Linked DNA regions of Homo sapiens: region 1 is linked to region 2. The links are contacts of gene promoters, found by promoter capture Hi-C in blood cells and fetal thymus (Javierre and others, 2016). All regions are on one chromosome and are shown on one strand. Each heading gives the region's core, a stretch centred on a gene start or on the middle of the fragment in contact. The rest is flanking DNA. Distances are from core to core; before and after follow the strand shown. Region 1 has its middle 13 kb from the start of PLD4. Region 2 holds the start of GPR132 (G protein-coupled receptor 132).

The links. Contacts are between HindIII fragments. The CHiCAGO score rates a contact against its expected background, and 5 or more counts as called.
Region 1: a fragment that was not itself captured here is called in contact with the fragment with the promoter of GPR132 in region 2 in 1 of 17 cell types (endothelial precursors); the score reaches 5.3 in endothelial precursors.

What each region holds. Positions count from the first base shown.
Region 1 is chr14:104,909,908-104,914,039 of GRCh38, forward strand. No RefSeq gene overlaps it. Among named protein-coding and RNA genes, the nearest start is that of PLD4, 13 kb to the right of the region's middle. The HindIII fragment of the contact is 8,040 bases long and covers 1-4,132 here.
Region 2 is chr14:105,063,869-105,068,189 of GRCh38, forward strand. GPR132 (G protein-coupled receptor 132) reads right to left here and starts at 1,562. Exons shown (of 4, transcript NM_013345.4): 1 at 1,511-1,562. RefSeq lists enhancers at 41-140, 251-390, 2,068-2,585, 2,261-2,430, 2,641-2,710. The HindIII fragment of the contact is 11,012 bases long and covers 1-4,321 here.

The sequences.
Region 1 (4,132 bases), core at 1,466-3,965, 150 kb before region 2:
AAGATCTTTCAAAACCTCAATGAAAGAGTTAAACAGCAGATTAGACACAGTTAAAACAAGAATTAGTCAACTGTAAGAAAGATGAGAAGAAATTACCCAAAATGCAATACACAGGAACATGGTGGGAATAGAAAATGTGAAAGACATGTTAATAGGCATAGAAGACTGCGTGACAACATATAACATACATCTATCTGGAGTTTCTGAATGAGGGAGTCGAAAGGATGAGACACAGGAAATATTCAAAGAGATCAGGCCAGAATTTTCCAGAACTGGGAAAGACACATACCATGGATGAAATTGTCTCTCAAAAGATGTTAAAGTCCTGATGCCCAGTGCCTGTGAATGTGGCCTTATTTGGAAATAGAGCCTTTACAGATGATCAAGGTAAGATGAAGTAATTGGGGGAGATCCGGTAAACCAAAAATAAAAACCTAAGCTCCCGACTGACTGATGGATCCCCCCCTCAGCAAAGGGCATTCCAAAGTTAACCTAAAAGACTAGCTCAGGCCATGATGCGAATTAGGGGTCAGATGCTTCATTATACCCTCTTCCCTTTGGAATTCTGGCACAGCTGACCAGCATTAACATTTCAACAGAAAGATTAAAATTAGGACTGATAGAACAGACTATTGAAGTCTGATAAGAAACATCTGCAATCCATTCTCTCTGAAGTCTGCTACCTGGAAGGCTTCATCTGCATAGTAAGAACCCTGGTCTCTACAACCGTTATCTTAACCTAGACACCCCCTTCTATTGATTCCAGGTCTTTAGATAACTCTTTTTTTTCTTTTTTTTTTTTTGAGATGAAGTCTTGCTCTGTTGCCCAGCCTGGAGTGCAGTGGTGTGATCTCGGCCCACTGCAACCTCCACCTCCCAGGTTCCAGCGATTCTCCCACCTCAGCCTCTGGTGTAGCTGGGATTACAGGCATGTGCCACCATGCCTGGCGAATTTTTGTATTTTTAGTAGAAATGGGGTTTCATCATGTTGGCCAGGCTGGTCTTGAACTCCTAACCTCAGGTGATCCTCCAAACTTGGCCTCCAAAAGTGCTGGGATTACGGGTGCGAGCCACCATGCCTGGCCTATATTAACTCTTTCAACCAACTGGCAACCAGAAAATCCTTGAATCCATCTCTGACCTCGAAGCCCCCACTTCAAGTTGTCCCACCTTTCCAGACCAAACCGATGTACATCTTACATGTATTGATTGATGTCTTATGCCTCCCTAAAATGTATAAAACCAAGCTGTAGCCCGACCACCTTGGAAACATGTCTCAGGATCTGCTGGGGCTGTGTCACAGGCCATTAGGCACTCATATTTGGCTCAGAATAAATCTCTTCAAATAGTTTACAGAATTTGACTCTTTTTATTGACAACCCTAATCCCATGTGACTGATGCCTTATGGTAGGGGAAATTTGAGACAGACATGTACAGAGGGAAGGCATGAAGACACAGGGAGAATTTCATCTATAAGCTAAAGAACACCTGGGGCTACCAGAAATTATGAGAGAGCCACAGGATCCTCCCTCACAGCCTCAGAAGGAATTAACCTTGCCGACACCTTGAGTTTGGACTTCCAGCCTCTGGAACTGTGAGACAATACATTTCTGTTGCATAAACTACTCAGTTTGTGAACTTCACTACAGCAACCCTAGAAATGAATACAACATATATCCACAGAAGATACAAAAACATAAGGGAAGCCAAACAGAATAAATGAAAGTAAAACTACACAGTTACATCACAGTAACATTGAGGAATACTGTAGATAATAAAATTTGTTTAAAACAGCCACAATAGTAAAGAAGGATTCTCTACAAAAGAATGGTGGTGGCCAGGCATGGTGGCTCACACCTGTAATCCCAGCCAGCACTTTGGGAGGCAGCGGTGGGTGGATCACCTGAGGTCAGGAGTTTGAGACCAGCCTGGCCAATATGGCAAAACCCCGTCTCTAGTAAAAATACAAAAATTAGCTGGGTGTGGTAGTGTGCACCTGTAAACCCAGCTATTTGGAAGGCTGAGGTGGAAGAATCACTTGAACCTGGGAGGTGGAGGTTGCAATGAGCCAAGATCATGCCATTTGCACTCCAGCCTGGGCGACAGAGTGAGACTTTGTCTCCAAAATGAAAATGAATGGTGGTGGATTTCTTAACAATGGGACCCTAAAGACCTCAAAGTTTCCAGAGAAAATAATTGTCAATCTGTAATTCTATACCCAGAAAAATGATCTTTCAATACTAAAGGAAAATTAGAAATATTTTTATGTTACATAACAACTAAGAGTTTACCAACACATCTTGACTCAAGGAAAACAATTGACAACCCAAAATTTTATACCCAGCTAAACTAATATTCAAGTAGACTTTAAAGGATATATTTCAGGAAGAAGGACAATGATCACAGAGGGAGAGGCTGAAGTCAAAGAAGGAATAGTGAATAAAGAAATTGCTAAAAGTGGCTGGGCACTGTGGCTCACACCTGTAATGCCAGCACTTTCGGAGGCCAAGATGGGTGGATCGCCTCAGCTCAGGAATTCGAGACCACCCTGGGCAACATGGTGAAGCCCCACCCCTACTAAAATACAAAAAAATTAGCTAGGCATGGTGGCGTGCACCTGGAGTCCCAGCTACTCAGGAGGCTGAGGCATGAGAATTGCTTGAGCCCAGGAGGCAGAGATTACAATGAGCTGAGTTATGCCACTGCACTCCAGCTTGGGCTACAGAGTGAGACTCTGTCTCAAAAAATAAATAAATAAATAAAAGTATTTTTAAAAGGAAATCATTAAAAGTGGATAATTCTAAACACACTCTCACTAGATAAATAATATCTAGTTAGACAAATATATAATTATAGTAGTTAAATATATCATCCTTATAAACATTTAATTTATGGAGTTTAAAATAATAATATTACAAGTGCTATGGTCAGGCAAGTATTAATAAAAAGAAAGCTGATGTGGCTAAACTAATATTCTCTTTTTTTTTTTTGAGACAGAGTTTTGTTCTTGTTGCCCAGGCTGGAGTGCAACGGTGCAATCTCGGCTCACCGCAACCTCCGTCTCCTGGGTTCAAGTGATTCTCCTGCCTCAGCCTCCCGAGTAGCTAGGATTACAGGTGTGCGGCACCACGCTGTGCTAATTTTGTATTTTTAGTAGAGACGGGGGTTTCTCCATGTTGGTCAGGCTAGCCTCGAACTCCCAACCTCAGGTGATCCACCTGCCTTGGCCTGCCAAAGTGCTGGGATTACAGGTGTGAGCCACCATGCCCAGCACTAAATTGATTTTCAAAAAAATATATTTTAAGACAAAAACCATAATTAGGGAAAAGAAGGCCGGTATATAATAATGAATAGTATTGTTCAGAGGATGTAAAGATTCAAAACATGTATGTACCTGAAAACAGCCATAAGTATGGGGAAAAAATGAAGAAGACTGCAAGTAGAAATTGATAATTCTATCATAAAAGAAGATTTCAACACAACTCTCTCAGTGACTGCCAGGTCAAGCGGATAAAACATTAATAAAAGGTGAATAAGATTCCAATAGCACATTTCGCGAGCTGGATTTAAAGCCATATCTAGACGTGACCGTTAGAGAGGACACATTATGCTCTGGTACGTGTGGAGCACTTACAACAATCAGCACACGCTTAGACATAAGGCAGGGCTTAACACACTTCAAAACCCACTTATGACAATGAGCACATGCTTAGACATAAGGCAGGGCTTAACACACTTCAAAACCCACTTAGGACAATGAGCACACGCTTAGACATAAGGCAGGGCTTAACACACTTCAAAACCCAGTGTCATATGACTTCACTCTCTCAGCCAAATGTAATTCAACTCTCAATCACTCACTGAGGAAGAGTGTTAAAATACATCTGGAAACCTTATAACAGATTTCTAAATCATTCATGAATGAAAGAAAACGTAAAATATTTAGAACTAAATAATAATGTATCCCTGACACACTTACATTAGTAAAGAAGAGCAGCTGAAAATTAAAAAGTTAAGCATCCGGCCGGGCACGGTGGCTCATGCCTGTAATCCCAGCACTTTGGGAGGCCAAGGTGGGCGGATCATGAGGTCAGGAGTTTGACACCAGCCTGGCCAACACGGTGAAATCCT
Region 2 (4,321 bases), core at 312-2,811:
CGCTCTCGTTGCCCAGGCTGGAGTGCAATGGCACGATCTCGGCTCACCACAACCTCCACCTCCTGGGTTCAAGTGAGTCTCCTGCCTCAGCCTCCCAAGTAAATGGGATTACAGGCGTGTGCCACCACGCCCGGCTAATTTTGTATTTTTAGTAGAGACAGGGTTTCACCATATTGGTTACGCTGGTCTCGAACTCCTGACCTCAGGTGATCCACCTGCCTTGGCCTCCCAAAGTGCTGGGATTACAGGCGTAAGCCACCGCACCTGGCTGGATTGCCTGTAATTTCTAAGCTGTTTCACGGTTGCTGGCCATTCCTAGCCATTTCCGTCTTTTACTCCCACCTGCTTTGGCACCAGGCAAACCTATGACCTCTTTTCTGCCGTCACGTTTGAGACAAACCCTAGGGAGGGAAATGTGGAGTCACCAGCTCCAACCTCCCTGCTCCACCACACCCATCCAAAGCCCATTGTCAACTTTCTTATTTTTCCCAATTTGATAGTGTTGCCCAGGCTAGAGTGCAATGGCGCGATCTCGGCTCACTGCAAGCTCCGCCTCTCAGGTTCAAGCGATTCTCCTGCCTCGGCCTCCCAAGTAGCTGGGATTACAGACGTGTGCCAACACGCCCGGCTAATTTTTGTATTTTTAGTAGAGACAGGGTATCACCATGTTGGTCAGGCTGGTCTCAAACTCCTGACCTCAAGTGATCCGCCCACCTCGGCCTCCCAAAGTGCTGGGATTACAGGCATGAACCACCGTGCCCAGCCCCTATCCTCATCTTCTTCCAGGAGCCTCTGCTCTCCCACCTCGGCCTGGCCAATCTCCTGAAATATCATTTTGTGCTCAGCCCAACTGGCCAGTCTTCAGTGGTCAGTCCCAGTCCCTTGCAGTGGTACAGACCCACGTCATGCACTTGACAGAAGGTATTGGGCCCCCCGCCCCGCTGTGCCTGGTGCGCCGAACGCCACTCCAAAGGCCGGTGACCTGCCCAGCTCCAGGATCTTGTCACGTGACTGGGCCAACTGCCACTCACCGCAGCACAGCCCCCACTGCCCTGCTTTTCCCTCTGTGTAACCCCACAAGCAGCACAGGCCCCACAGAGAGAAGCCCAGCCCTTCAGTGCCCCCCGACCAATCACGGAAGCAAGTGGCCAAGGAGAGATTCCAGGGACAAAGTCCAGCCCCCTGACTCACCCCCATCTGGACCAGTAGCCAGGGAAGCCTTTTCCAGAAGAAAGTCTCCAGGAAGGTGGCGGTGACAAAGATACAATGGAAACTGTTGTCCCTCTCCCCCAAATCCTCCGGCCCCATCACATCTGTGGTCACTGGGGGTCCTGGGTTCTCTCGGGAGGGACCCCAGATTAAGAACCCTCAACAAAGCCTCCATCTTTACCAACAAATCACCTTTGCCTTCAGATCCCCCTCTGCCCGCCTCCAGCTCCCAGCCCCCAGCCCCATCCCAGAGCCTGGCCCCCCAGGCCCACTCCCCAGCACGCAGAGCCCAGCGACTTACCCAGGGCCCCGCCTGCGTGGCTAGCCTCGCACCCCTCCCTGCAGTCCTAGCTGAGGTTTCAGGAAGTAGCAGGGGTCTAATTATGTTCTGTCTAGAACTCCCCTAACCACAAACAGGGCTGAGCTAGGGGTTAGCCAACCGGGCTGGGGTATCTTACTGGTGATGACAGCATGGCCTCGTCACCTTCCTGAGGGAGGGAGTGGCAGGAAACCCCAGTCTTACCTCTTTTAGCAATAGCAGCACTCAGAGCCAGGCTCCACTCACTCAGGAGCTCCCAGGCAGGTGCTGGGGCCTGGCGCGGCACAGCGGCTGTCCGTGTGTCCCCAGACAGGCAAGGCAGGACAGGGGTCCTGGAAAGGCTGCAGGGAGGGGTCCTGGAAAGACAAAATCCAGCTCCTCTGCAGCTCAGGCCTGGTGTTGCCCACTCTCGGGCCAGGCAAGCACGGAGCAGGGTGACTTCCCAGAGGCTGTGTCCTCCCAGGAGTCCCTGTCCGGGGTGCCAGGAGTAGAGAGGCTGAGTGCGCCCACTGCAGCCCCGGGACCAGGATGGCACCTGCATGTCCTGGAAGGCTCGGCACAGCCACTGCACACAAGCACCCTCCCCTCCCCGCCTCCCTCTTCCTACATGGGGCAGGGCCGTGTGGGAAGAACAGCCTACTGCACACTCCACATTCCTCCCCCAGCCCTACCTCAACCCCTCCTGCATCCAGAACCAAGCCTGGCCTGGCCCAGGAGCCCTGCGGGTGGGCTTCTCTGTGAGGGGCCCTGTGGGAACTGGAGGGTGGGCAGGCAGGGTTGCCTGGGACAGTCCCCCTCACTGTGGGGCTTCCGGCCATGATGGGCCCAGTTTCCTTGGACAAAGCCAGCTGGCTGTGGACAGCACCTACAACTCCACTCACCTCCAGGCTGCTTCTGAGTTTCAGGGCACAGACCCACCCTGGTGCCCACTCCCGAGCCTGCCAAGCTCCATCCAAGCCAGGCTCTTTCAGCAGTGGGGACAGGGCCGGGCTGAGGGAAGGAGCTGGGGACCACAAATGTCTCCAAGCGACACTGCCCAGCACCGCAGCAGGGACGGTCACTGAGCGAAGAAGCCGCCATCCTGGGTGGGTACACCCACGGCCAGGAGAGGCCGGTGGAGGCCGAGCCCCCAGTCTACACTTTCCCCCAGACACGTGGATCACAGCTGCCCCCTGCTGCAGGGCCGCATGGCTGGAGGCTGCCTCCGAACAGCGATTTCAGAGGGTTTTGTGTGGGTGGCAGTGGAGTCCCTGGAAAGCTGGGCTTTCCCATTGCCCTGGCGGGGAGGCGCAGGTCTCAGGGCAGGGCCTACCTTGGCTTTCCAGAAACACTTGCCCAGGGGACAGTGATCCTCTAGGGGATCTGGTGCAAACACACGCCTCCACAGGCCACTGCTCATGGGGTCACTGGCCTCCCGGGTCTTTGGGCCAGGGCAGCCCCACCCTCGGAGCAGCAATAGACGAAGCCCACATCAGGCCAGTGGGGGTGATGGCCAGGGACAGCTGTGGGTTCCTGTCGCTGGCCCCAGCAGCCTCCTAGGACCTGCCCCGTCCTGCGCCCCACTGGGTGGTCTGTCACGTTCACCAGGCCTCCTCTGCGCCCCCGGTGAGGGGTCCAGGAGTGACATGCGGACCCGGCTCAGGCCATTGTCACCCTCCATGCCTTCTGGCCTTTGCCAGGCAGTCCGGGAATAGCCGATTCAAGTGAGGTCAGTTGAATCCTCTCTTTGGGTCCTTCACTGGGGTCTGGGAAAGGAAAGTTGGGTCCCTTGGGTGGCAGGAGCTGTGGGTATGAACTGGGGGGTTGGCAGCCGTGTACCGGCTCCCCTGCCCCTGCCAGGTGGAGAAGCCAGGCTGGGGTGGAGGGCAGGCAGGAGCCTGGGAGTCCAAACACTGACAGCCTGGGGGTGTGGACTGGCCCTGCCTATTCCCACCGGGCCTTCGGGACCAGTGGAGGCTGCCCCGGGCTGTGCGGCACCTGGGGTGTTGTCTCTGAGAAGCCCGTCAGGGAGATGGCTCTCCCTGCTCTGACCCCAGCAAAGCGATTCATACCCAGAGAATCCCTCACCAACAGGAGAGCAGGTTTCAGACAGGAAGTCACCCGAACATCCCACGGCTGAGTCACGTGCCAGAACAGCTCCCTGCGGCCCAGACACAGCAGTGGTGAGGTCCAAGCTGCAGACATGGGGTACAACTTCACATCCCGATGTGTGCACCAGAAACCGCCCTGCTGTCCGGTGGGTTCACCAGCCGTTCTCCTGGCCTGTCTGGACCCTGCAGAAGCCAAAGCTGGTGATTGCTTGCTAATTTGTCCAGTCAGTCTGGGAAGGCCTGGGCCCAGGGGGAGACAAGGCCAGGAATAAGGGAAGGGAGGGTCAGAGCAAGAAATGTCCAGGGGGCAAAGTTGGAAGGAGCTGGAAAGATGGGACGAGGGACCCAAAGAGCCCCTGTGCATGGGGCCAGTGTGGTCTGCTCTACCTCCCGGGCAGACACAGGGCCTTGCTCTTGTCTGGCCCTAAAAAACCCTGAATGGCCAGCTCTGGCCTTCCCCACCTGGTGCATCTGGAGCAGAAGTTCCCAAGGGCTACCTTGCATGTGGGGTGCGGCTGTCCCCCAAGCCAGGTGTGACCACGCTGTGGGGGCTTGTGGGGCTGCTCCTCTGGTGACGGCGGCAGGGTTGGGTCGGGGGCCTTTGCTCTATAACTGTAGAGAGACAGTGGCCGGAAGGGTAGGCTTTGAGAGTGGGGGCCCCAGGCCTCCCAGCCTCCCAGGAGGACAGGTGTGGCGGGCAGAT